7 separate regions of the Homo sapiens genome follow, and all the other regions are linked to region 1. The links are contacts of gene promoters, found by promoter capture Hi-C in blood cells and fetal thymus (Javierre and others, 2016). All regions are on one chromosome and are shown on one strand. The core of a region is centred on a gene start or on the middle of the fragment in contact, and the rest is flanking DNA. Distances in the headings are between cores, read along the strand shown. Region 1 holds the start of RASSF9 (Ras association domain family member 9). Region 2 overlaps LINC02820 (long intergenic non-protein coding RNA 2820). Region 3 overlaps LINC02820 (long intergenic non-protein coding RNA 2820). Region 4 overlaps LINC02820 (long intergenic non-protein coding RNA 2820). Region 5 overlaps LINC02820 (long intergenic non-protein coding RNA 2820). Region 6 has its middle 190 kb from the start of LINC02820. Region 7 has its middle 210 kb from the start of LINC02820.

The links. The method cuts DNA at HindIII sites, captures the fragments that hold promoters and counts their contacts. A CHiCAGO score of 5 or more calls a contact.
Region 2: a fragment that was not itself captured here is called in contact with the fragment with the promoter of RASSF9 in region 1 in 1 of 17 cell types (fetal thymus); the score reaches 6.3 in fetal thymus.
Region 3: a fragment that was not itself captured here is called in contact with the fragment with the promoter of RASSF9 in region 1 in 1 of 17 cell types (M2 macrophages); the score reaches 5.2 in M2 macrophages.
Region 4: a fragment that was not itself captured here is called in contact with the fragment with the promoter of RASSF9 in region 1 in 2 of 17 cell types (erythroblasts and megakaryocytes); the score reaches 5.2 in erythroblasts.
Region 5: a contact is called between a fragment that was not itself captured here and the fragment with the promoter of RASSF9 in region 1, in 3 of 17 cell types (megakaryocytes, erythroblasts and M1 macrophages). The highest score is 6.9, in megakaryocytes.
Region 6: a fragment that was not itself captured here is called in contact with the fragment with the promoter of RASSF9 in region 1 in 1 of 17 cell types (erythroblasts); the score reaches 6.9 in erythroblasts.
Region 7: a fragment that was not itself captured here is called in contact with the fragment with the promoter of RASSF9 in region 1 in 2 of 17 cell types (erythroblasts and megakaryocytes); the score reaches 6.5 in erythroblasts.

The regions. Positions count from the first base shown.
Region 1 is chr12:85,834,345-85,837,962 of GRCh38, forward strand. RASSF9 (Ras association domain family member 9) reads right to left here and starts at 2,065. Exons shown (of 2, transcript NM_005447.4): 1 at 1,811-2,065. The coding sequence starts at 1,857. The HindIII fragment of the contact is 4,697 bases long and covers 1,955-3,618 here.
Region 2 is chr12:85,416,813-85,420,430 of GRCh38, forward strand. The region is part of intron 3 of LINC02820 (long intergenic non-protein coding RNA 2820); the gene reads left to right. Among named protein-coding and RNA genes, the nearest start is that of LINC02820, 100 kb to the left of the region's middle. The HindIII fragment of the contact is 2,181 bases long and covers 672-2,852 here.
Region 3 is chr12:85,434,501-85,438,118 of GRCh38, forward strand. The region is part of intron 4 of LINC02820 (long intergenic non-protein coding RNA 2820); the gene reads left to right. Among named protein-coding and RNA genes, the nearest start is that of LINC02820, 120 kb to the left of the region's middle. The HindIII fragment of the contact is 2,899 bases long and covers 160-3,058 here.
Region 4 is chr12:85,452,646-85,456,263 of GRCh38, forward strand. All of the region lies in intron 4 of LINC02820 (long intergenic non-protein coding RNA 2820), which reads left to right. Among named protein-coding and RNA genes, the nearest start is that of LINC02820, 140 kb to the left of the region's middle. The HindIII fragment of the contact is 806 bases long and covers 1,494-2,299 here.
Region 5 is chr12:85,477,286-85,480,903 of GRCh38, forward strand. The region is part of intron 4 of LINC02820 (long intergenic non-protein coding RNA 2820); the gene reads left to right. Among named protein-coding and RNA genes, the nearest start is that of LINC02820, 160 kb to the left of the region's middle. The HindIII fragment of the contact is 5,440 bases long and covers 1-3,618 here.
Region 6 is chr12:85,509,357-85,512,974 of GRCh38, forward strand. No RefSeq gene overlaps it. Among named protein-coding and RNA genes, the nearest start is that of LINC02820, 190 kb to the left of the region's middle. The HindIII fragment of the contact is 1,875 bases long and covers 624-2,498 here.
Region 7 is chr12:85,527,467-85,531,084 of GRCh38, forward strand. No RefSeq gene overlaps it. Among named protein-coding and RNA genes, the nearest start is that of LINC02820, 210 kb to the left of the region's middle. RefSeq lists enhancers at 1-80, 81-580. The HindIII fragment of the contact is 1,939 bases long and covers 803-2,741 here.

The DNA.
Region 1 (3,618 bases), core at 815-3,314:
CACTATTAAACTCTCTTTTTTATTTTTATTTTCACCTTTTCATAATTTTGCATAGAAAACTTTTAAAAAATGTTTGCATACTCACCTCCTCGAAAGAAAGCTAGTTTTATAGGTAGAGTAGATAGTAGAGTGGCAGAACTGATGTAATGAAATTGAAGAATGCACTTCCCTGAGGGAAACTCAGGGGCGCATGCAAAGTTTTATTGCCCTGTATTTGGCATACCAATGACAGAAATCTCAAATTGCTAAAGCAAAACAAAAAAACCTCAAACAAACAAACAGAAAGCCCTGACTACAGGGATAGTATGCCAGAAACACAACTTGATTTATGAAACCATAAAGTTTTCCAGAGTATTTTTATACATTTGATGACATTTAAACAAATGCCAAAATAATACTACAAAAATACCACTACAAAAATATCATTTAAAAAACAGAGTATTTTTATTTTTGGCTTGGGGGAGGCTTTTCTGGAATATTCTAGAATATTTTAAAATGCATTGTCACCATCAAAACACAAATTTTAAATACTCAAACCACTTTATTTTAATATAGTTTCATTATCTTTAATTACCATAAATAGCATATTTGTGAAATATTGTCAAATTATTAGAAAATAAAGCTTACTTAGAAACTTTTACAGTATTTATTAAGGCCATTTACTTTCTAAAGGAAATTTTGTCACCTAAATCATGAATACATTTGGAATGAGTTAAAAACAGGATTTTCAAAGTAGACATGTGTGCGCAAAATAAAGTATGGAGATTTACTTTAAAGTTGTATTACTCTATATTGTCATGTAGACACTTTAAAATAATTATATCATTTCCTACCATGTAATTGTATCCTTTTGAATCTGCACTGAGCAAATTATGACAAGTACAAACAGGCATGATTGAGAGAAAAGTGGTGGACAATCCCCTATGCCAAAATAAATATATTTTTAAAAAAATATAGCCCATGTCTAAATTTATTCTCAAGTTTTTGGCATGAAAACGTAACATTTGATGTGTAAATAAAATATTTAATAAGACTAAGACAGACATACTGTCCCTAGAAAAATACGTGTGTGTATGTGTGTTTTGAGTAACTTATTTATACTATGGGCATTTCAAGCTTGAAATATCAAATCAAATCAAAGTAAAACAGTAATAATAAGGATTAGAGAGGATAGCTGCTTGAATCCTTCTTTAGTGCTTAAAACTACCTAAAATTCTCAAAGATTTTTTAAAGAATCAATTCAAACAAAGTTTCTCTCCAGAGTGTTTCCACTTTGGGAACATTCCAGGTTTCAGGAATGCCTCACTCTCAGGGGAGCCAAAGCATTGTTTCTGAATTGTATCAGCAGTTTTATTTTTCATCCTACTTAGTGGCTATAAATACTAGTTACATCTTTATCAAAGTTTTAATTATTTCTACAATATTCTAAAGTTCTGTTGAAACAAAATGACACTTTTTATTGTACTACCCTCAAATGCCCAGGGCAACAAAAAAAGAAACTGTTTATGTTGCTAGTTGTGGAAACAGGACTGGTCAAAAGGGGAGAAAGGAGTCAAATATAATCACTCTTTATTCTCTGCGATCCTTGAGCTGGTCACTCCCATCATCAATACTGGGAGAATATCCTTACTATCTAGGTATTCATACTAGCCTAACTCCTTAGGCTAGGACTGTGTCCCCACGAAGCCTTTTTTTATCAGAATCTAACAACCACAAAACACATACTTTCACAGGTAGGGTCCAGAGTACACACACAAGACACACACACACACAGAGACACACACACACTTACTCACACGCTTGACTTTACCTGTTTTTATGCCGAGTCTTTAGCAAGTTTCTTCCAAAGGGAGCCATGGTCTGTCGGGCAAACGAATAAAGAAATTATCTTAAAGTGATCTGAGGGTGGGGGTGGGGGTGTCTGGATTTCCAGGGTGAAGGGAGGAGGGCTGGAAGCTTTCTCTTCTCCTCGGATGTTCCTGGCTTTCAGCTCATTAGTAGCCGGCTGAGAAAGTTGCTGGAAGTTGTGCAACTGCTGCTTAACTTTGAACTGCGGGATTGTTGTGGCTGCTGCACCTCTGGAGACCTGCCCAGCTTCAGCCTCGAAGAAGGCGTTTGGAAGCAGGAAAAGAAAAAAAAAAAAGAAAGAGAGAGAGAGGAAGGGAGGAGGACTCTATTGTGTTCTGTAGTTATTTGCAGACTTAAAGAACTGCCAACCCCACAAGCATGGTAATACCAATGGAACGGGAGTTTCACTCGATCTGGAAATCCCCCCTCCCCCGCTTTCCACACCCAACCACACAAGGTGTACTGAACACACATAAAAGGATTAAAAGTAAATATCCCCCAACTCCTGGTCAGCTCCAGTCTGTGAAAAGTCATCTGATCATGGCAAGCATGAGGGATTGCTGAGAACTCTCTTTGCCAACTCATTCGACCCCAGATCCCCTGCCAGGGTGTCAGGACTTTAAAATATATTAGGGAGAGGGAAGCTGGAAACCGGATCAAGGTGGACTCACAGACCACTTAGAATTGTTAAGTCCCTGAGTTCACGGTCTTAAGAGTTTCTTCCAGGCCCCTGCTCCACACTCTCAAGTTCATCTTGCAAAAGTCGAAGGACCTGAAGGACCACAGGGCTCCAGGGCTGATGCATCACAGTTTGGTCTAGGAACCAGCTGGAGTTTAGTGTTTGACTCCCAAGGCGTTTATGTTGACCCCTACCCCATCTTTGACATTCACTGGGCCTTTAGAGCCCTGGGAATTTCAGAGGAAAAGCAAACTGCTCCTGCCCCTCAAGGAGTAAAGAAGACACACCGAGGGGATCTGCTGGAGCTCGAAATGTGAAGTGGAAGTCTAAGGGAGGGAGGGCTTCATCTGGTCCCAGGAGAGCTCGAATCCAGAAGCAGGGCAGAGGAATGGAGATGGGAGAGTTCGGGTGCCTGTGGGAGGCCCAGCGCAGCTCCCACCAGGTACCTGGCACTCATGGGAAAGCACTATTTAGGGGCAAGGGCCAGGAGAGCTTTCTCATGGACGTGTTTTACTGGGATTTTGCCCCTCCTAAAACCACCCCACCACCCTCCACCCCGCCAGGCTTCTAATCATGGGCTTCCCAGGCAGACGATGAGGGAGGGAGGGAAAGGAAAGCCAACAAACTTGTGAGTTCTTTCTGAGCCTTGGCAAAGAATATGAATCGCTCCTACTTACTTTGGGAGTTTATCCCCTACCCCCAACAACACCAAACAAAAAAATAATCTCAAGGTCTTCCATGATTCTGATACACACTGATTTATGCAGTGCTCAGATAAATCATGTTTTTCATTATTTATTATCATAATCTTTCTCTATTCATCTATATTTCATGTTTCTGTATGTGCATATACACATGTGTCCTATACTATTTCATTATTTATAATATTTTCTTTATAATTTTATATAATAAATCATATATTATATCCATATATGCACCCAAATCATTATGAAGTGAAAAACATTACAATAGCCAATGTTAAAGTTTAGTTACCTTTTTATATCCCTGGGAGTTAGGATAACTAAAAAATACATACCCATCTTAATTTGATATGGTCAGTGATTCCAGAGAAAATCAAGACACCAAAAATA
Region 2 (3,618 bases), core at 512-3,011, 420 kb before region 1:
CCTTCTGGCAGAAGAAGCCACCCCTTCTGGGATGTGTTGGTCTTATGGCAGAGGGAGAAGAGAGATGCAGGAACCGATTATACGGTAGCTCTGAAAGGGTTTGCTTAAACGGGCCATGCATCACTCTCACTCACCTTTAAATAGGCAGGAGGAAGTCACATACCCAAGCCTCACATGGAGGAAGGTATCATCACCTCATAGGAAAAGGCAGAGGATAACTGGAAAAATACTATCACTTACCACAACATCCACAGGATTATCGTATGATTAAATGAGATGAAAAAGTAAAGCTCCCAGCAGGGTTTTAGGCACATAATATGTTCTCTAGAAATGGTATTTCACTTTCATTCTATGGGATCCAGAGTTAAGCTAAACAAAGACCAAGCTCATGAGGAATTACAGCCACATATAACAATTTTCCAGTGTCTGTTTTGTTTGTAACCTTTATTATAATAATTGATAGTTAAAAGAATGAAAGTCATATTTCAAAAATCACAGTAACAGAAAGATTTTAATCCTCCAATGCAATTGTCAATAAAGAATTGACAAATTAAGACCTGATTTTTAAAAATGCATTCTTAATTTTTTAGGTGTTCTTAATTTCTTAGAAACTTTAATTGATATATATATCTCTCAATTAAATGGGCATCATTAACAAAATAATAAAGCAAAGCTTCCATTGGAAGGTAGCATGTGGGATACCCAATGAAAATAAATTTTGGTTAAGATTGAATTCCAGTAAGAAATTTATCAGGGATTTTGCAAACTTTAGGACTAGAGGAAAAATTCCCTATTGAATGTTTCTGAAAAGGTCTCTTTTCTGTGTCATGTGGTCAAAGAATTTTGTATGAGTAATGAATTTGGTCTTGTAGATTTTTGGATAAATCCTTAAGAAAAAAGCCAACAAGTCTTGCCCTCCCTCTGTGAGATCAAAGACACCACTGTGTTTTTGGTATGAAAAAGGTTTCCCCATGGTTGCCAAAAATATGCTGTTTCCCCATCAGCTGTGTAGCGGCCATGAAATGATTGACGGCCCTTGCAGTTTCTCCAGGGTGGTTCAATTTCAAGTTGAAGGTAGTGCTGAATTTGAAAAGTATTTTGAGTCCCTTTTGAATAAAAATTACAACAGGACAAAAATACTTCTTCCTTTCAGCTGACAGTCAATGACATCCACTTAGTAAGGTGTTACTGTAGTACGAAGTGGCCCTTTGTGAATACGTGGGATAAATTTCCATCTATGCAAGGCCAAAGTACTCAGTTGTGATGATTTACCTTTTTTTCCATAATAAAATTTAATAGAGAAAAAATAATTTGAGATGAAGACTGAATTCTTTAAATGCTTTCACAGAAACAAATTTTTGAAAAATTTCTTGTGAGAAAAAATATAACAATGTTATTGATACATAATTATCTTATTGTAAACTCTTTAAATAATAAAAATCTGTTATCACATGATTTTAGAGGTACTAAAGTTTGAAACATATACTCTCTAAATATAATAAATTATCAGAGAACTCTGGCATAAAATGAATAATGACAAAAGGGTGTTAGTCATATCCTATCAAGGAATCTCACAATATATAAACCCCACTTTGATACCACATATGTGAGAAAAATTTTGAGAATCCATGTGCTTGTAGTTTAGCATACTTTTTAAAAACTTCAATGTATCCACTACGTTACAAAATTGAAAACTTAAAAATAAATTGGTAAAAAATAAATGTTAACAAAAATTGATTAAAATTCCTCTCAGTTATTTGTGGGAGAAAGGAAGGATGTACAAATCATTAAGTCTTTCTGAAAAGAGCATGCCCTTTGAGCTGCTTAATGTATACGAGAATGGAGAGTCCAGTTGCCTTAAAAAAAATTCCAGAAAACATCCTCTTTTAGGAACTACCTGGTTTTTACACGAGTGTTTACAACCTTGAGATTTGTAGTATTCCTTAGCTTTCCCTTGAATCTCAGGTCCAAATCAATGAAACAATGTGAAATAAAACACTTAGGCACTTTATGATCCAAATCATAAAACTAAGGATATGAGATGTTGAATAATTAGAACTAATTGGTGACTGCAAACAGAGATCAAATTCACCAGAAAGCTGCATGACTTTTTCTTTAGTTCATAGGCACTGTTTAAGATCAGAGGTTTAAAAAAAAAGGTTGCATGTTGTGTTAATTGATTCAGGAATATGTTTTCTGCTCACTTTTGATGCTATAAAATGAAATGGAACAGTCTGGAATGCATACTGAAACAAGGGGTTACATGGGTGTGGCAGCTTCACAGCCTACACTCGTTTGTTGTTTGCCGGTAAGCATTCATTTGTTCAACTTCTGATATTTGGGCCTTGTTCCAAGAGTATTTTTGAGAAAACGTAAAAGTTCTGTGTGAAGTGGATGAAGTACTCTTTTAACTTTTGAGTATTCATTGTCTCAAATATTTATATATTCCATTAATTCTATTTCACCCATTTTTTTCCAAGTTACTCTTTAATGTCTCCACTTCAATTTGAATGTATCTAGTTCTAAATATTCTGCAGCTTACAGGGGACACTTATGTCTATATTCTGCAATGTCTTGTTACTTTTTAAAGTCTATTATATACAGATAATTCATTTTAATTATTTTATTAAACAAAATAGCAAATTTTTTAAGTGAAATTTTTGAAGACATTAAAAAACCCACAGTAAATCTCAAAGTCCATTTAAGTAATTATAATGTGATTGACAAATGATGCTGCCTATAGTAATAATGTAGGTATATATGTACACATGCATCTTTTTCAAAAGTGAAAATTTGATAGACATCTTCTTTCTTCTAATTCCTGCTTTGCAAATATCCCGGATCTGAAAACAAGCTTATACTTTATACCAGAATGATCTGAAACAGAGAAAAAAGCCATGCTCTTGGCAGAAATATGTGAAGTGAACTTAAATTGTTAGATTTTTAAAATATTTGAATGATGGTTATCTATGGTGGGTCTCTTCTGATATTTGAGCTTTTCTTATTACTGCTTGAATCATTATCAAGAAATTCATTTTTTCAAGATTTCTCTAAATTAGGAAGCTTTATTCCCTATTTATGCACCTATTATGCACCTATTATGAAATTAAATTATTCCATTGACAACAACCAAAATTAATAAACTAGAGGCTTTTACTGTTAACTGTGTATTTATCTTTAGACTAATGCTATTATTTGAGAGTTAGATGTTAATAAAATCTATGTAGTATTAGTGAAATAACTTATTAACAAGTTTAGAATATGCTAAGTGAAACTCAACCCGTTTTATGTTTACATTCCTAAAGCTTTGATTAAATCCTAATACATATCATCCAGCTGCACTGAATTCATCTGATGCAAACACTTGATAATTGTTCACCTTATACCCTTATCATCTATACACATTCTCTAGCACTCTCTCTTTGAAAAAATAAACTCAAATACCAAAGTAAAAAAAAAAAATTACACAGCAGTCTGAACTCTGAATACAAAAATAGCAATCTTTGAAAATAAAAACAGAAACCTCTAAAATAATGTTTTATTTATCACATACAAACATGTTTTCCTAAGAATTACTTCCAGTATGGGCCACCATATGGAAGTAGAAAGCCATTATAG
Region 3 (3,618 bases), core at 359-2,858, 400 kb before region 1:
TTGATGAAAATGTTTAGACCGATAAACTTTATGCTTTATAATTTAGGGCTTGTGTAAATGCTTGGGGCTTTTGAGTTGTATTTTATTTAAAGATTTTCATATTTCTGCTCAACTGTTAAATTGTGACAATTTTTTCTGAACTGATTTGATCTATAATAAAGCTTCAATTTGTATTCTAACTCTGAGGTTTTGAGTTCATTTGAATGTCATTTAAATTGTCTCTGTAGTCTCCACTTTGCATGAACCCTCCTTCTAATGACAGGCAAAATAGGAAAATGCAATATACATAGGTAATAGTTTTCCAAACATTTGGGGGAAAAGGTGTGTTATCAGTGACAACATGACTTTTTAGTAGTTTGCCCTCAGTCCTCCAATCTCATAACTTTTCTTTACCTCAAATAATATGTGTATTAGTCAGGGTTCTTCAGAGAGACAGAATCCATAGGGGATGGATGGATGGATGGATGGATGGATGGATGGATGGATGGATGGATAGATAGATAGATGAAACAGGATTTATTAGAGAATTGCCTCACATGATTATGGAGCATGATAAGTCCCACAATAAGCTGTCTGCAAGCTGGAGAACCAGGGAAGACAGTGGCATAGCTAACGCAAGTCTGAGAGCCTGACCACCAGGGAAACCGATAGTGTTACTCTTAGACAAAGACTGAAGGCCTGAGAACATGGAGGGCCACTGGTGCAAATCTTAGAGTCCAAAGTTCAGAGAACCTGGAGTTCTGATGTCCAAAGGTAGGAGAAGAGGTTTCCCAGCTCCAGAAGAGAAAGAAGAGAGAGCGAGAGCGAGACAGAGAGAGAGAAATTCTCCTTTCCTTTGCCTTTTGTTCTATCTGGGCCCTAATTCAATTGGATAGTTCCTGTCCACATTGTCCACATGGGGTGAGGGTAGATCTTATTTACTTAGTCCACCGATTCAAATGCTAATCTCTACTGGAAACACCCTCATAGACCCAGAAATGATGTTTTATCAGCTACCTAGGTATGGCTTAATCCAGTCAAGTTGACATCTAAAATTAACCATCACAATACAGTTTATCCAGAAGAAAATCATCATAGTGATTATATTGTTTCCTTACAAGCAAAGTTTATTATAAATAGAGGTCAGGCCATGCATGGTGGCTCACGCCTGTAATTCCAGCACTTTGGAGGCTGAGGCAGGTGGATTACACCACTGCACTCCAGCCTGGGCAACAGAGCTACTGCGCCCGGCCAGGAGAATCTCTTGAACCCAGGAGGCAGAGGTTGGCCACTGCACTCCAGCCTGGGTGACAGAGCAACACTGTCTTACACAAAAAATAAATTAAATAAATAAATAAATTGATCAAAGAGATATACTTTACATAGGAAATTGCTGATCATCAAAACATTTCTTTAAAGGAAGCTCACCAAGCACTCTGCTCAATCCCTACCTTTATTACCACATTAGTATATTTCATCTTAACAGCATCTCCAAAATCTTGCCAATATTCTCCCACTAAGCTCATTCTCCATCACGAACTCTGTTTTATTCTCTTTTCAGCGCTTAACAACTGTCTGACATTTTATGTAGTCATTTGCTTACTTTTTACTGTTTGTCTACATCTACTTCATTCTAGCTGTTTTCCTAATGACAGTTCACTATGTTTTTCTATTTTCTTTATCAAATTTTTCCTGTTATAAGAAGAAATACAAATTATCCTCAAAGACAGTTTAAGGTGGAATACAAATTAAGAAATTACCTATAAGCAAATTTTAAAATTGAATAAATTATAATCACATTATAATAGTCCCTATACCATTTTGCTATCTTGTTTACAGCTCTATTCCTAGGGTAAAGAATAGTGACTGTCACATGGTAAGACATTCAATGAATATTTCTGGAATGAGTGAGTGAATTTATTAGATAAGCAAAAAAAGATGACTCTGCTGTCTAGAGACAGGTCTGTGATGGAAATAAAAATTTCCTGAGTTTTCAAACTCATATACTTTCCTTATGTCAATCTGCCACTGAACTTAATTTTGAATAAGAAAGAACTGATTGGTGAGGTAGAATTTAGCGAATTTTCAGGGAAAATTACAGTGTCATATAAGTTGACATTAACCAAAGAATTCCTAATCAGCAATAAATATCTATTTTTAGAAAATAGGATTTCCAGAATGTTCAGATAAATTTGAACAGGGCTTGAGGCTCTAAAAAAGAAGATGTTTGAAAAGAGATGAGAAGACCTCAAAAATGCAATTATTGTATTTATGTTCTCAAATTAGTACTACGTTATACACTTATTTCTCTCGGTTATATATTAAATTTGATTACTTCTTTGTTCTCATTATATTTTAACCTGATTTGATCTTTCTATGTTCCCCACAGCAAGTATTCCATTGTATACAATAAGCATTAAATAGTCACTGAATAGAATCAGATGATTTAAATCAGAAGAAAAATAGATACATTTAAGCAAACAAATATTTCTCTACAATTAGATTATAATTCATTTGGATTTTCAAAGGGCTTATCTAGGAGATACAATGAAGTGGATACATACTTAAAATGTGTATATAATGAATAATGAAGAATTAGAATAATTAGTTCATATTTTTCTTACCTATCCCATTGAGCATTACTCCTGTCTTCTTGAAATAGTAAAAAGTAGGGAAAATGTAAATTTAAAATTTTTAAATATAATTGATGAAGAATTTGTTGGAAAAACATTAGAGGGCACCATTACAAAAATTCAAGTCTCCTAGAACAGATGTGTCATATTCTGAAATGTGATTCAGGTATTTGCAAATTATTAATGAGACATCATGGAAAGTTAGAGCTATCTTGAAAGAAAGCTAGGGACAGAAAAATGTCCAAATTAACAAAAGGGAGAAGAGTTTATGTCAGTGACATTTAGTGTTACATATCTGATGTCAATTCTTTTTTTGGGGGGGTAGGGGGCCGACTCCAGAGTACATGTTAAAATAACCATGTTTATTCGATGCAAAAATTTGGTAATGGTGAAGTATTCTAGTTCTTTTCTGATTATCCCAATTCCCATAGTTTTTTCTTCACAGAAGCTTTATTTGTAGCAGCCAAACACTAGAAATTCTCCAAATATCCATCCACAGGAGAGTAGATAAATTGTGGTGTGTTCATACAATGAAAAACTACTCGGCAATAAAAGAACAAACTAATGATGCCCACAACAACTTATACAGTCTCATAAGTGTTGTGTAAAGTGAAAGATGCATTAAGAGTACATAAGATATTATTCCATTTCTGTGAATTTCAAAAACAGGCAGCTCTAATCTATGTGAATAGAAATGAAAATAGTGGTTGCCTCTCGGCAGGGGAACTAACTGGAAGAGGCATGAGGACACTTCTTGTGGTGATGGAGATGTTTTATACATACATATATATATATATATATATATATATATATATATATATAGTTTAATTTTAGTTTTAGGGATACACGTGTATGTTGGCTGTACAGATAAATTGTATGTTGTTAGGGTTTGTATCCATATTATTTTGTCACCCATGTGATAAGCAAAGTACCCAACAGGTGTTTTTTTGATCTTCCCACCCTTCACCCTCAAGTAGGCCTTTGTGTCTATTTTTCTCTTATTTGT
Region 4 (3,618 bases), core at 647-3,146, 380 kb before region 1:
AGTCTATAATGCAACTGGCCTAGAGTCTACAGTGTGAATGTCATAAAATATAAAGTAAGAGCTGTTTTAGATTAAAGGAACTAAAGAAACAAGACAATTAGATATAATATTTAATTTTTTGATCATCATTTAGAGGGAAAAAAGCAGCTATAATCTAAATTGTTGAGATACTTGGGAAGATTTCTTATATAAGATGATTATTATTGCATTAATATTATATTTCTTCAGTGTGATAATGTTATTGTGATTATGTAGGAGAATATTGTGTCATTATGAGACAATATAGAAAGTATTATGATGCTTAAGTAATAAGGAGTATAGTATCATCGTATCTGCAATTTACTCTCAATATTTTTCTGGAAAAGAAGACAAATCTGTATCTATATTTATGCCTACCTCTATTTCTATGACTATATCTATGTGAATACTCAATATCTATAGTTATATCTCATATGCAACTATATTTATCAATGAAGCAAATGATTAACAACTGATGAATCTAAATTAAAGCCATGTAGGAGTTCTTTCAAATTTCTTATAGGTCTGATAATTTTCAAACAAAAGAAATTAGGGTAAAAATGGTCTCATTTACTACATAACGTATTTTTTTCTTAATTTTCCCCATATTTTTGACATATAACAAGCTATAGAAAATATGCTGATAATTAAGACCAACATTCAAAATACTACTTACCCAAACTCACAAAGTTAAAATCTGATAGGGCTGAGATACACATCCAGGCTGGACTGGAAGTTCTTGTCCTTGTCACATTGTTACCTATTGCTTTCACGGTACACCTAATTACAATCTTCAGACTGGTTCGTGATTACTAACTCAATTTTTTTAATCTCCCAATCACAACTTTCTTCTGACTTTATGTTCTGACTTTAACTGATTTTTGAATTTGACTACCAATTCTTAGAACACTTTTCGTCTATAAAATAAAAGGTTTAGACTAGATGGAAGTTCAGGCTCCCACTAATTCTAAGATTTTAGGCTTTTGTGTATTTCACATATTTTTCATCTCAAGTAAATATGATCTGATGTTATGTGTAAGAAAGTTTGCTTTGATTTTGTAAATGACCAATAATCTACAAAATGGAAATAATCTACAAAATGGAAAGACCATAAAATCCTTTTATCTAACAATAATGTACACATTCAAGTTAAGTTTTAATAGTAAATATGATGCAATATTCCGATTATTTGAATATTATAATTTATATATATTCTATTATTTAATATATCTAAATCTCTACTCATTCCAGACATTTTAGCTTTTGCTGTATTTTCCAAATTGGGATTTCAGAAATGAGCAATTTCTACCATTAGAATTATAAATAGGTTTAAAACAAATTTATTTAAATAATTTAATACTTTAAAAATTATTTCCAAGCAATTTATCTATGAATGTATTCCTCTCTTTCTTCATGCTTCCTAGCTTCTACCTACGTCCATGAAAGTCTCATTCACTAGTGAAGGGAATTCTGGAAGCTTTTACTTTGTTTCTCTTGCTAGGATAGCCATTTCCTTTGCATTAATTAAATTCAGTTAACTTGTTTTACATTCCACTTGGCTTTAACAGTGAAAGCATTGAGGAATGATATAAGGAAAGGAAGGGTAGATATAAACAAGAAAAACACTCGACAAATGTAATAAAGAATGGACACAATGTTTTGCTGTAATAAATTAAGAGCACTTTAATTTGGGTAGGGAAATTTTGTGGACTCTGTAAGGCACTATGATTTATGGGACTAGGCTGAATGCAAAAATTTATCAGTATCCAAATATCTGGTCAGATTAAAATTGAGAGAGCAGAGATTCAGAAAATAAGAAAGTTGTTGGTTTCTATCCTCACCCTTCTACCTATCACCAAGAGTTCTATCTCTTAAACCTGCTTGAAAATCACTGACTGTCAAAGAAACCCCTTACCCTCATGTTGGAGCAAAAATAAATAGAGACATATTGGTTATTATGCTTCCTCTTCCAACAGAGGGCTGTTATTTTCCAGCATTTCATGAGAATTCATAATTATGTGTATTTTTATAATACATTTAGAGAGAAATGCATTTCAGCCTTTTCTTGACAGCAACTGTACAACTCTCAGATGTCACCTTCTATCTCAATTCGAATATGGAACATGTGAAATTAAACAGTATTGCTGCTAATAGTGCAGTGCTACTTACTGGTAGCCTACTTACTGTTTCTTTTCCTAAGGAAGTCAAATTATTTTTTTAAAGATTAGCAAATGAATAGCAATATAATATAAGAAACTGGCAGAAACCTCAACATGGGGGAAGCTTTTAGAAAAAAAAATTGAATTAGTAGATTTTTAACAATCCTAGTGCCACAGTTACTGCCTTGAATACTGTGATAATGCAAGTATATTGAGCAATTTCAGGCAAAGGGGTTTGATTACAATTCATTTATGGAAAGAAGAGAAGACAGTTACCTCTTGTTTTTCATTTCACAAATGATTTTCATGCTATTTTAAAATGTATAATAGCTTTATAAAATGATTCTCTTTTATTTTTCTGACCCCTTTGTGGCATTCCAGTCTAATAGATTAAGGTGAAACTCAGATAAGTGTCTTCAACGGCCTGCAAAGTAAATGTCACCAAAGATCTAAAATCAAAATGCTATCACTGTAAGTTATAATTTGTGTTTACTTAGTTTCTAAGAATTGATTTTAAAAGGGAGGTTAAGGCATTAATTGCATGTTTCATACTAAACAAGTCAAAGAAAACATAATCTCATAATCTGAAATACTCATGAATGGTACAAGATAAACCTAAAAACAGTATTTTAATTATAGTGCATTTGTCTTCTGTTTCCTCCAAAGATATTGTCTCTGTGCAATCTTCTGATACAACTTTTCTTTCTCAGAGAGGCAATAGCTTTAAATTATAAGCATTTATATTATTTATCTCCTCTGCTGTCTGTGGAGGGTGGGTCTGATGGAAGAATCTCTTCCTTTGCTATATTGAGTGGTGGATAGAAATAATAGAACCCTGGGGAATGGCTTGATAGGTCTACATCAACATGTGAATCATACAGGGGGAAAATTCCAGTGAGAGGAGAGGTAAAATGTAGATTCAGTGTGACCTAAGAATGTGTGCTGAGATAGGGTAGATTTGAGAGTACATGAAGAGTATAAAACTTTTGGAAAGGAAGTAATAACTTAAAGAGTAGTTTTTGACATGTACTATGTGATTTAATTTCATTTTGTGTCTTCTGCAAGAAATAATCAGTAAAAGATTGCATTATTTTTAAGATGTCTTGGAAATGGATGTCTAGAACTTTTAGATGAGATGGTGGGCTGAGATGGGTCTTAATGCAGGAGAATGTCAGCATTTTGTTGTGCTTACACAGCTTTCCATAACTCATTTATAAACCTGACTCCTTTCTGGTCTGCCTCTTACAACTTTGTATGCCTTCCACCTTCCCAATTTATCTCTTTGACTCTCAGGTGCCTTCCCCTCTTACCTCAAGTATCCAGGGAAAAGATTAAATGAAAATCACACCACCAACTTTCAGCCATTCTTACCTCCTAAATATTTCTGTTTCTGAAATATGTGGTTTCAACACATGCAACCTGTTTTCTTTTACTCTTGTGT
Region 5 (3,618 bases), core at 370-2,869, 360 kb before region 1:
TTACTTTTAATACATAACACAGAAAACGAATTTGTAGCAATGTTTTCTTATAGAACTATGTCTTTAATATATTTCTAATTGTACCACTAGATGGAGATATTTATTAGAAAGTTGTCTGCCTCTTAACCCAAAGAACTGCTTGGGTGGGGGGGAAATATTTTTTCCATTATATATTCTTTTGGAAATATGAAAAATAATTAAAATATAAATAAAATATCTAATAAAGTTTTCTGAGTTGATCAACTCATCTAAGAGTGAGAAGACATATGAATATTTAAGCACTATCAAATTTCAGAAATTTTTTTCTATTGCTCTTGAATAAAAAATCTGAAACAATCCTCAGAAATACAATCTGAAAAGTTTTGGTTCCCTGGAACACATGTCTCTTACCAGTGCACAGATAATAGTGTCATGGGTGTCCAGAGTGTATACATTCTATTCTTGAAAAAATACATTCTAAAAAATTACAAAGCCAAATGACAGACTTTAGGAAGATAGATAAGAATGTTTTGTGGAACTTTTGTTAAAAGCATAAGCAGATAATCAGCACAGTTACGAGCAACCTGGCACCATGCTCTTAATGAATGAATGTCTCTGCTAGAGGCACACACTTTGATCTTTTTTCTCAGTCATTTGCATATAATTGCTGCATTTATCATGTGGCCAATAGATATTAAAAACATAATAGAAGGAGATAATGAATGAAATTGGACTGAAATTGCACTTTGTGGTCAAAAGGCCAGTGCTGAGCAAACCTACTTTAATCTAGAAAATGCCTACTGGTCAGAGTTAACTTCATTTGCTCAGTGAAGGACTGATTCTAAACCCATAATGAGTTTACACCCAGTTGAAAAAGAAGATCCTTGCCAAGTTGTATTAGTTCGTTTTCACACTGCTGATAAAGGCATACACAAGACTGGGCAATTTACAAAAGAAAGAGGTTTAATTGGACATACAGTTCCACATGGCTGGGGAAGCCTCACAATCATGGTGGAAGGCAAGGAGGAGCAAGTCCCGTCTTACATGGATGGCAGCAGGCAAAGAGAGAGTGAGGAAGAGGCAAAAGCGGAAACCCCTGGAAAAACCATCAGATCTCGTGACACTCACTCATTACCATGAGAACATTATGGGGTAAACCTCCCCCATGATTCAATTATCTCCTACCAGATCCCTCCCATATCATGTGGGAATTATGGGAGTACATTTCAAGATGAGACTTGAGTGGAGACACAGAGCCAAACCATATCATTCCATCCCTGGCCCCTGCCAAATCTCATGTCCTCACATTTCAAAACCAATCATGCCTTCCCCACAGTCCCCCAAAGTCTTAACTAATTTCAGCATTAACTCAAAAGTCTGCAGTCCAAAGTCTCATCTGAGACAAGGCAAGTCCCTTTCACCTATGAGCCTGTAAAATCAAAAGCAAGCTAGTTATTTCCTAGACACAATGGGGGTACAGGCATTGGGTAAATACAACCGTTCCAGATGGGAGACATTGGCCAAAACAAAGGGGCTACAAGGTCCATGCAAGTCCGAAATCCAGTGGGGCAGTCAAATCTTAAAGCTCCAAAATGACCTCCTTTGACTTCATGTCTCACATCCAGGTCACACTGATGCAAGAGGTGGGTTCCCATGGTCTTGGGCGCCTCTGCCCCTGTGTCTTTGCAGGCTAGAGCCTCTCTCCTGGCTGCTTTCACAGGCTGACATTAAGTGTCTGTGGCTTTTCTAGGTGCATGGTGCAAGCTGTCAGTGGATCTACCATTCTGGGGTCTGGTGAATGGTGGCCCTCTTCTCACAGCTCCACCAGGCAGTGCCCCAGTAGGGACTCTGTGTGGGGGCTTCAACCCCACATTTCCCTTCCACACTGCCCTAGCAGAGGTTCTCCATGAGAGCCCCACTCTTGCAGCAAACTTCTGCCTGGGCATCCAGGCATTTCCATACATCTTCTAAAATCTAGACGGGGGTTCAGAAACCTCAATTATTGACTTCTGGGTACCCACAGGCTCAACACCACGTGAATGCTGCCAAGACTTGGGGCTTGTACCACCTGAAGCCAAGAACCAAGCTCTACATTGGCCCCTTATGGCCATGGCTGGAGCCTCTGGGGCACATGGCATCAAGTCCCTAGGCTCCACATAGCTCAGGGACCCTGGGCCCAGCCTTCAAAACCACTTTTTTTTCCCTAGGCCTCTGGACCTGTGATGGGAGGGGATGCCGTGAAGACTGCTGACATGCCCTGGAGACAGTTTCACAATTGTCGTAGGGATTCACTTTTGGCTGCTTGTTACTTATGCAAATTTCTGCAGCCAGCTTGAATTTCTCCTCAGAAAATGGGATTTTCTTTTCTAACGCATTGTCAGGCTGCAAATTTTTCAAACTTTTATGCTCTGTTTTCCTTTTAAAACTGAATGCTTTTAACAGCACCCAAGTCACCTCGTGAATGCTTTGTTGCTTAGAAATTTATTCCACCAGATACCCTAAATCATCTCTCTCAAGGTCAAAGTTCCACAAATTTCTAGTGCAGGGGCAAAATGCCACCCATCTCTTTGCTAAAACATAGCAAGAGTCATCTTTGCTCCAGTTACCAAAAAGTTCCTCATCTCCCTCTGAGACCATCTCAGCCTCGACCTTATTGCCCATATCACTACCAGCATTTTGGGCAAAGCCATTCAACAAGTCTCTAGGAAGTTCCAAACTTTCCCACATTTTTCTGTCTTCTTCTGAGCCCTCCAAGCTGTTCCAACCTCTGCCTCTTACCCAGTTCCAAAGTTTCTTACACATTTTTGGGTATATTTTCAGCAACACCCCACTCTACTGGTAACAATTTACTGTATTAGTCTGTTTTCACAGTGTTGATAAAGACATACCCAAGACTGGGTGATTTACAAAAGAAAGAGGTTTAATTGGACTTACAGTTCCATGTGGCTGGGAAGCCTTACAATCATGGCAGAAGGCAAGGAGGAGCAAGTCCCGTCATACATGGATGGCAGCAGGCAAAGAGAGAATGAGAAAGATGCAAAAGCAGAAACCCCTGATAAAACCATCAGATCTCGTGAGACTTATTCATTACCATGAGAACAGTATGGGGGAAACCACCTCCATGATTCAATTATCTCCCATCAGGTCTCTCCCACAACATGTGGGAATTATGGGAGTACAATTCAAGATGAGATTTGTGAGAGGACACAGAACCAAACCATATCACCAGCTAACCATTTATTCATCTATTCCTGTAATCACATAAAGCATACTCTTTGAGGGACTACTATGTGAAAGGCAGTCATGTAAGCTGATAAATCCTATTCATTACAAATTCAACACTGGAAGTATGAATAGAGTCTGATGGAAAACAGAGGAGGAATAGACAAAGAATGCTGCGATTGGTAGTATAATGCCACATTGAGAGGGTGATAGTCGAGCAGGCTCTAGAAGCATACTTAGGGGTGTTAGAGATAAAGGATGTGTTAAAGACAATAGAAAATAAACTTTCACTGTATTAAATTGGGTGTGGATATAAAGGTAAGCAAAATTTAATAAAGTAAGATTTGAAAATAAAATGTATGACTTGGTCACCATGGTCTCTACTGAGATCCCAGGATGGGCAAATCTAATGGTGGG
Region 6 (3,618 bases), core at 311-2,810, 330 kb before region 1:
GCTATCTCTTTTGTGTAATAAATATGGAGGTCTGTGTAAAGCTCAGGGCCCTTGTCCACTAGAGGCAACGTGCCCCCTGACCCCATCTTCCAAATATACTCTCTTGTCTTTGAATTTTATTCCCGCTTTCGCCACCCTTTGTTCAGTCCACCAAGGATCCTGGCAGGTTACAAGAAAAGTAGGAGAAAAATCTGGAGGAAGGATGTGGAGTCTCAGAAACCAAGTTAAGAGTGTGGTGGAGCCAGAAAAAGGCCAGTTGAGATAAGAGGAATCTGAAAGAATGGTGTACCACAGAGGCTAACTGGAGACCAAGGAAGTGGTCAACATGGTAAGATAATGCTGATGGTCTGGATAAATAGGATCAAATATTGTCCATCAAATTTATCAATATGGAGATCACTGATGACCTGCTTTGTTGGAATGGTGGTGCTAAATACTATTTGGAATGAGTCAGTGGAGAATGGGATGTGTATTAATGTTCTAGTACTGTGAAATAAACTACCATAAACTTAGTGGTTAAAAAACAACACCTATTTATTAGCTCAGAGTCTGGGTCAGAATTGTGGCACAGCAGGACTGTCAGCCACTCTGTGTTCTCATGTGGAGCTTGTGGTCTTCTTTTAAGCTTGCATGGTTGTGGCAAGATTCACTTCCTCGTGGTGGTTATGGGCGGTCCCTGTTTCCTTGCTGGCTGTCAGGTGGGAAATACTCTCACCTTCTGGAGGCAACCCACATTCCCTAGCATGTGGTTTTGTCCATTTGCAAAGCCAGCAATGGAAAATCTCCCTCATGTAAAATCTCTCATACTTGAATTTCTGACTTCCTCTTTTATGAAAAGCTGGGAAAAAACTGCATTTACCTGGATGTTCTATTTTAAGATTAACGGTGCCACATAACAAAACCTAATCACAGAAATAAATTCACCCTATTTGTGGTCCCAGGGATTATAGAGGTTTTGTACATCAAGAGGACGGGGAAAACTTTTGGGGGTTTTCTTAGAATTATGCCTACCACAGTAAAACTGAAGATGGGTAGTATAGACTGCTTTTTGAGTGACTTGTTTTGCCAATAAGACAGCAGAACAATAGGGCAATAACTCAAAGGAAAATGGGATCAAAAAAGGATAGTTTTAATATGTAAGACATTTTAAAAATATCTGTATGCTGATAAGAATAATTCTCCCCCAGACAGAACATCTGATATGTCTTGAGAGGAGTGAGCTGCTTGAATAATATCTATTTTTGAGTAGGTCAGGATGAATGGGATCTCTGGCACATGTGTAGATGTCGATCTTAATCAGGAGAGTAGAAAAAACAGATTCTTTGCAGTAAAGAAAGAATTCAGTAGTTATTTTGCTCAAAGCTACCAGAAAATTTCTTCTGTTGCTTCTTTTGTTCTCCTGCGTCAGTGAAATAAAAAGATTTATGAGTGAACTGTAAGGATGGGAGAAATGGTGACAGAGATTTGAGGACAATGTATAAGGACTTGGAATGGAATATATACAAGCCAACATATAATCACGAAGAAAATTTTACAAAGGATTTTTTTTTCACAAAGAGATCAAATTATTTGTGCTGTAGAAATAAGTTTTATAGTTTTAAGAAAAGAATAATGGAAGAGGAAAAAGAGAGGAAGGAATGCAGGGACGCCTATGCATTTACTTGAGTGAGTGTTATTTTTCAATCACATTATTAGTGCTATGAGAATAAATAAAATACAGTCCTAGCATTAAAGGTTAAGAAGGGTCTTGTAAATTTTTATGAAAATACATATTTATGTGGATAAAATAACAAGAAGAGATATGAAGGATGACAAAAGGGCTTAACCTGCCTAGAAGACATCATAGAAAAGTAACATTTGAGATACATAGTTCTTAAGAGAAAAACAGAGAATGTTTTTCTAACAAAATAGATAGTATTACATATAGTTCTCCTTAATTCTGATGAAAAAATAATCTTTGGGGGGAGATAATACAATAGAGAAATAGTGTAGAGTAAAATAGTATGAATCAGGATAAAATCCAAGACCTGTAGGTGCAATGATGGCTTCAGTTGTAGGCCAACCAGTGAATGATATTCCTCATTTAAAATGTCCATTCTGGTCTCAAATAGAATATTCCTAAAGTGTGCCCTTCAAAAGAACTTACCTAATTGTTTTTATATTAACCTAATTATCATCATCATCAGGATAATAATAATTTAATTAACTAACTACAACTATTAATATTTCATGATTGTTTTAGTAAGACTCAGACTTTTTTAATAAGATTCAGGCATTTCAGATCATGTAAAATAAGCAAAAAATATTCTGTAGCAAAGTATTTGTAGCTAAAAGGCCAATGAACACATTTGCTCTTGCTCCAAAATGTTGTAACCTATCTGCTTGATGCTTTACATTTTAAAATATTAACAATTTATATAGGTTGTTTTTCTTGTGAACTAAGGTAACTGACATGCCAACAGAAAATGGTAATTTCTTTCATATCACTTGTACCTGTAAGCTTATTGTCTATTTGATAGTATTTATTTTAAAAATCTTAGTTGATGTTTACAATTAGACAATAGATTTTTGTTAAACACTTTATAGACACTATATAACCTATTTATATTCTTGAATTTTATTAGAAAAGGTAATACTAAAAATAACCACAATTTATATAAACCACCAATAACTTTATTATTTCTCCTATTCATTGAGCTCTTAAATAAAAACAACATTCAGAGTAATTTCAGCACCCTTGAATTTTCTATCTTTGAACCAGAAAAAGATATCCAGGTTTGATTTCTGACTTTTAGTTCTAGATAATAGTATAATATTGAAAAAAAAAAGTCAAATAATTATCACTGCAAAATTAGGCTTGTAATTCTAATAGTTCAGAAAATAAGACTATCATGATTACTTTTCTCTATTGTAATGGCTGACTTGTGAGACAAAACAGGTATAAAAAAAGCTGTAAATCCCGTTCTCACGTATTCTTTTTTCCCACAAAATTTCATTTTCAAATAAGAATATATAAGTGTATAACATATACATACCATTTTTATTTAAAGAAAAAATTAGTAGCCTGATTTTTTTTTCTAGAATGAGATTCATGCAAAGGGCATCAGCAAAATTTGTGAATAACTAATTAGAGATTTTAGTCATTTCTTTGAAAAGAAAATGATTAAACTAATTAACAGCTATAACTAAGACCACCATTTACTAGAAATAATAAAATTTTTAAACATTTTAACATTTTATATAAAATAATTATAAAATTTAGTCTAAGTAAAATGTAGTACATGTGATTTCTATAATAGTTCAGGAAATAATACCTGAAAATAGCTCATGCCAAATTAAAATAGATATACATGTATGTATGTATGTGATAAATGTCTATGTGTGTGCATGTGCATGCATGTATAATCAAAACTATAAATTAAAAATAGCATAACATGATGTAAAAGCCAATCAACTGAGAAATTATATACCAGATACTTGACAGTGATTTAGCAAAATTAATGTGTAATGATCTCTTATTAATTCACATACACACACAAAATATAAGCATCTAAAAACAGTGGGACACAGAACCCAAACAAACAAGCAAATCACATATGTCAAATAAACATATAAGAA
Region 7 (3,618 bases), core at 522-3,021, 310 kb before region 1:
CGTCACAGGCCCTGAGACCTAGGAGGGAAGAATGGTTTGGCCGGCCAGGCCCAGGGTCCCATTGCCCTGCCAGCCTCTGGACACTGCTTCCCACATCCCAGCTGCTCCAGCTCCAGTCAGAGCTCAAAGGGGTCCAGTTACAGCTCAAATTGCCACTTTGGAGAATGCAAACCATAAGCCTTGGTGGCTTCCATATGGTTTTAAGCCTGAGTGAGTTGAGGCTTAGGACCCTCCACTTAAATTTCAGTGAATGTATGGAAGAATCTGAGGGTCCAGGCAGAAGCCTGCTGCAGGGACAGAGTCCTCACAGAGAACCTTTAGTAGGGCAATGCCAAGGGGAAATGTGGGGTTAGAGCCCCCACACAGAGCCCTCACTGGAGCATTGTCTAGTGGAGCTGTGAGAAAGGGGCCACCACCCTCCAGATGTGAGAATGGTAGATCCACTGGAAGCTTGCCCTCTGCACTTGGAAAAGCCACAGGCACTCAACAACCAGTGAAAGCAGGGACTGCACTTTTCAAAGCCATAGGTGCAGATCTTTCAGGTATGAACTAGTTTTTTTTTCTTATATATATCATTAAGTCTGCACAAAAATTCCCACTGTGGAATGACTAGTAATCCCCCAATTATACAAATGGGGAAAAACATACAAGGAAGTTAACTGCTCAAGATCACTAAAAAGTTAAGAGCTGAGATTTGAACCCTGGTTTGCCTGATTGCAAAGCCTGTGAGATCTCTTAATCATGATACTTCACTACAAACTATATCTGTATTAATTTTAATTCATAAGAATGAGTTAAAATAAGCTTCATGTCATTTCTCTATTAGTAAGTCATAACTCAATGTGGAAGTGTGATCTCCTAATAGACTCTGAGAGAACCAAACCCATTCTTTCTTAAAGCAGTCTGCATTGAAAAGCATTCTTACACATGGTCCTGTGAAGATCTTTTTGCCACACGTATGTACAAAACAGCAAACTCATTCCTTTAGCATTTATCAGACTGTTGTAACAATAAAGATCTGTGGTTATCTTATTCACATGTTTCTTCTTTTTTAAGTTAAATTTAAGCCAGGTGTAGTATTTTGAATTGCTGCCCATCACAAAGCCTGACCCTTGGAAGTTTCTGTACCTAGTCCCTTAAGGGGCGCAGGCATAGGCTCTGCCTCTGACTCCAGGTTTACAGGAATTTGATCACATACTGCTTCAAATGAAAACAAGCACAGCAGAGCTGCATGATTGGGGTGAGATCTACCTTGGTTCAAGTCAGATCTTTTCTGTGAAAAATCACTGTGATTTTAAGCAAATTTCTTCATCTCTCTAAGATCATCATCTTTCTCATTTATATAAACAAAATCTAATATATACCTTGCAGGGTTTTTGTGCAATTAACAGTAACAGAGATAATACACCTAGCATTCTCCTTTGAATATATTATAGAATCATATTTATCTTCCCTACCCCTATTTTAGTGATAACAGAGAAAAGGGCTTTTTTTCTTTAAAACATTTTCCCCCATACACACTGCAAACCACTGAGGCTTCTGTCTTCTTGTCTCTTAAACCTTAAGTTGGAGCACAAAATAAATATCGCTGTTAGGTAGAAATGAATTTGTGGGAAAGAGGCAAAATGATATAAAAATCTGATTGCTAAGAGTGGACTACATAAATTGCACAATTATTTGTTGTTTGATTAATGCCAGTCATTTATTGCCCCATTAAACTCTAGACCTCCAAGCAAAATCTGGAGAAGAGAAATCAGTTAATTGAGTAGATATTTATTTTAAAAAAAAGGTTTAGGAGGAAACACAATTAAAGAAGAAAACAATGAGTTGTAAACTCTGTGACAATAGGATTTCCATCATACTCCTTATGAACAAGACTTGGCTTGAAAAATGTGTCCGTTTTTTTTTCCCCAATCCTGTCAATCTCAAGATGATTTGCCTTAAAATGTTGTATTTCCCTTTAGCTACAAAAAGTTTCTTTTTATTTTTTTTGAGACAGGTTTTCGCTTGTCACCCTTTCACCCGTGCCAGAGTACAGTGGCACAGTCACATCATCTGACTACAGTCTCGACCTCCTGGCCTCAGTGCCATCCTCCCATCTCAACACTTCACCTCCCCCACCAGTCCCAAGTAGCTGGCACTACAGGCACACTCCACCACACTCAGCTAATTTTTTATTTTATTTTTATTTTTAGATACAGGGTCTCACTATGTTACCCAGACTGGTCTTAAATTCACGAGCTCAAGCAATGCTCCCACCTCGGCCTCCCAAAGTGTTGGGATTAAGGTGTGAGTCACTGTGACTGGTCTAAGTTATTCTTTGTAAGATTTTTCTTTCATGAAATTTAAATATGAGAATATATCACACTTTTAAAAGATTTTTAATAAAATATTTCTTTTGTAAGAAGTAATTTCATGTATAATTTAACACCCACTTACCTCTCAAAAAAGAATCAAAGGCATTTAGGATCATCATGAACCTGCTCATCTTAAAATATGACTAATTAGTTTAACATTATGCTTCAGGTTTTTCTTTAAATGACTCTGGAAAAGACCTTAACTGTGTATTTTCCATCCAAGTGAACTTTGAAAACAATGTAAATTGCAGTGGGTATAATAAAAGCATTTTGTTGATAATTTGACCTCACTACTGAAAAGAATGAGGAAGTTACTTTTCTTTTTATTCCTGTCACCAGGACTACAATTATATTTTTAAAAATAATTTCTTTAAAAAGGTACAAAGCTTTTATTGCTTAACATTTTGAAAGATAATTTAATTGTGGACTTAGATCTTGAGAAATTGTCAGACGCCAACTACCAAGTTTTTCAGTGAGGAGTGAAACCACGGGTGATATAACCACTTTTCTCCATTTCCAGATGGAGGGGTGGGTGTTAGGAGCTTTATTCTAGAGGGACCCTGACTGAGAGTAGGTCCAGGTTCCCAGAATACCTGATCTCTTGTCAAATTGTAGCCTGGTGATTATCTATTGTTCCCTTCACAGATACTCCTAAAAGAGTCTGTCTGTTGAGAGCAACCTTTCAGATTGAGGGATGTTCCATTGTTTCATAAATTGTAACCTTTGACTAGATGGTTATTCTACTTTCAGAGTAACTAGTAGAATTGTACCTTCAAACTCATAGCTCTTTCTTCCCTGGCCACAGGGCCACCTCCCCTTAAATAAAGGTAGGGGCAAGTTCAGAGTCCTTCTCAGCCTACTCACAGTGCCTGCTAACTCGCTTGTTGCCGTCTGGGGCCCCAGGGGCTCCGAGTGGCATAGTGTGGAAGTCACTAAGCATGTTCTTCGGCCTTTTTCTATTTATTTTATTGTATCCTTTTTGAAATTTATTTCAGACCCATCCATGAAAGTCAGTCTCCTTCTTCAGGGAATGTCCTTTCAAAAGGCAAAGTTGGCCTCTACATAAAAAATAATAAATTCTAATATTAAAGACATTTAATGGAAATATTAGATGATATTTCCCTTAATGTTTCTTTATCATGATTGGTATGATTAATTCATGGTTTCTATTAATTTTGATTAGATATGTAACACTGGACTTAGTTCTTTATTCTTGCTATATGTTTTGAGTGAATAAAAATTCTTAGTGGCATGTAAGATG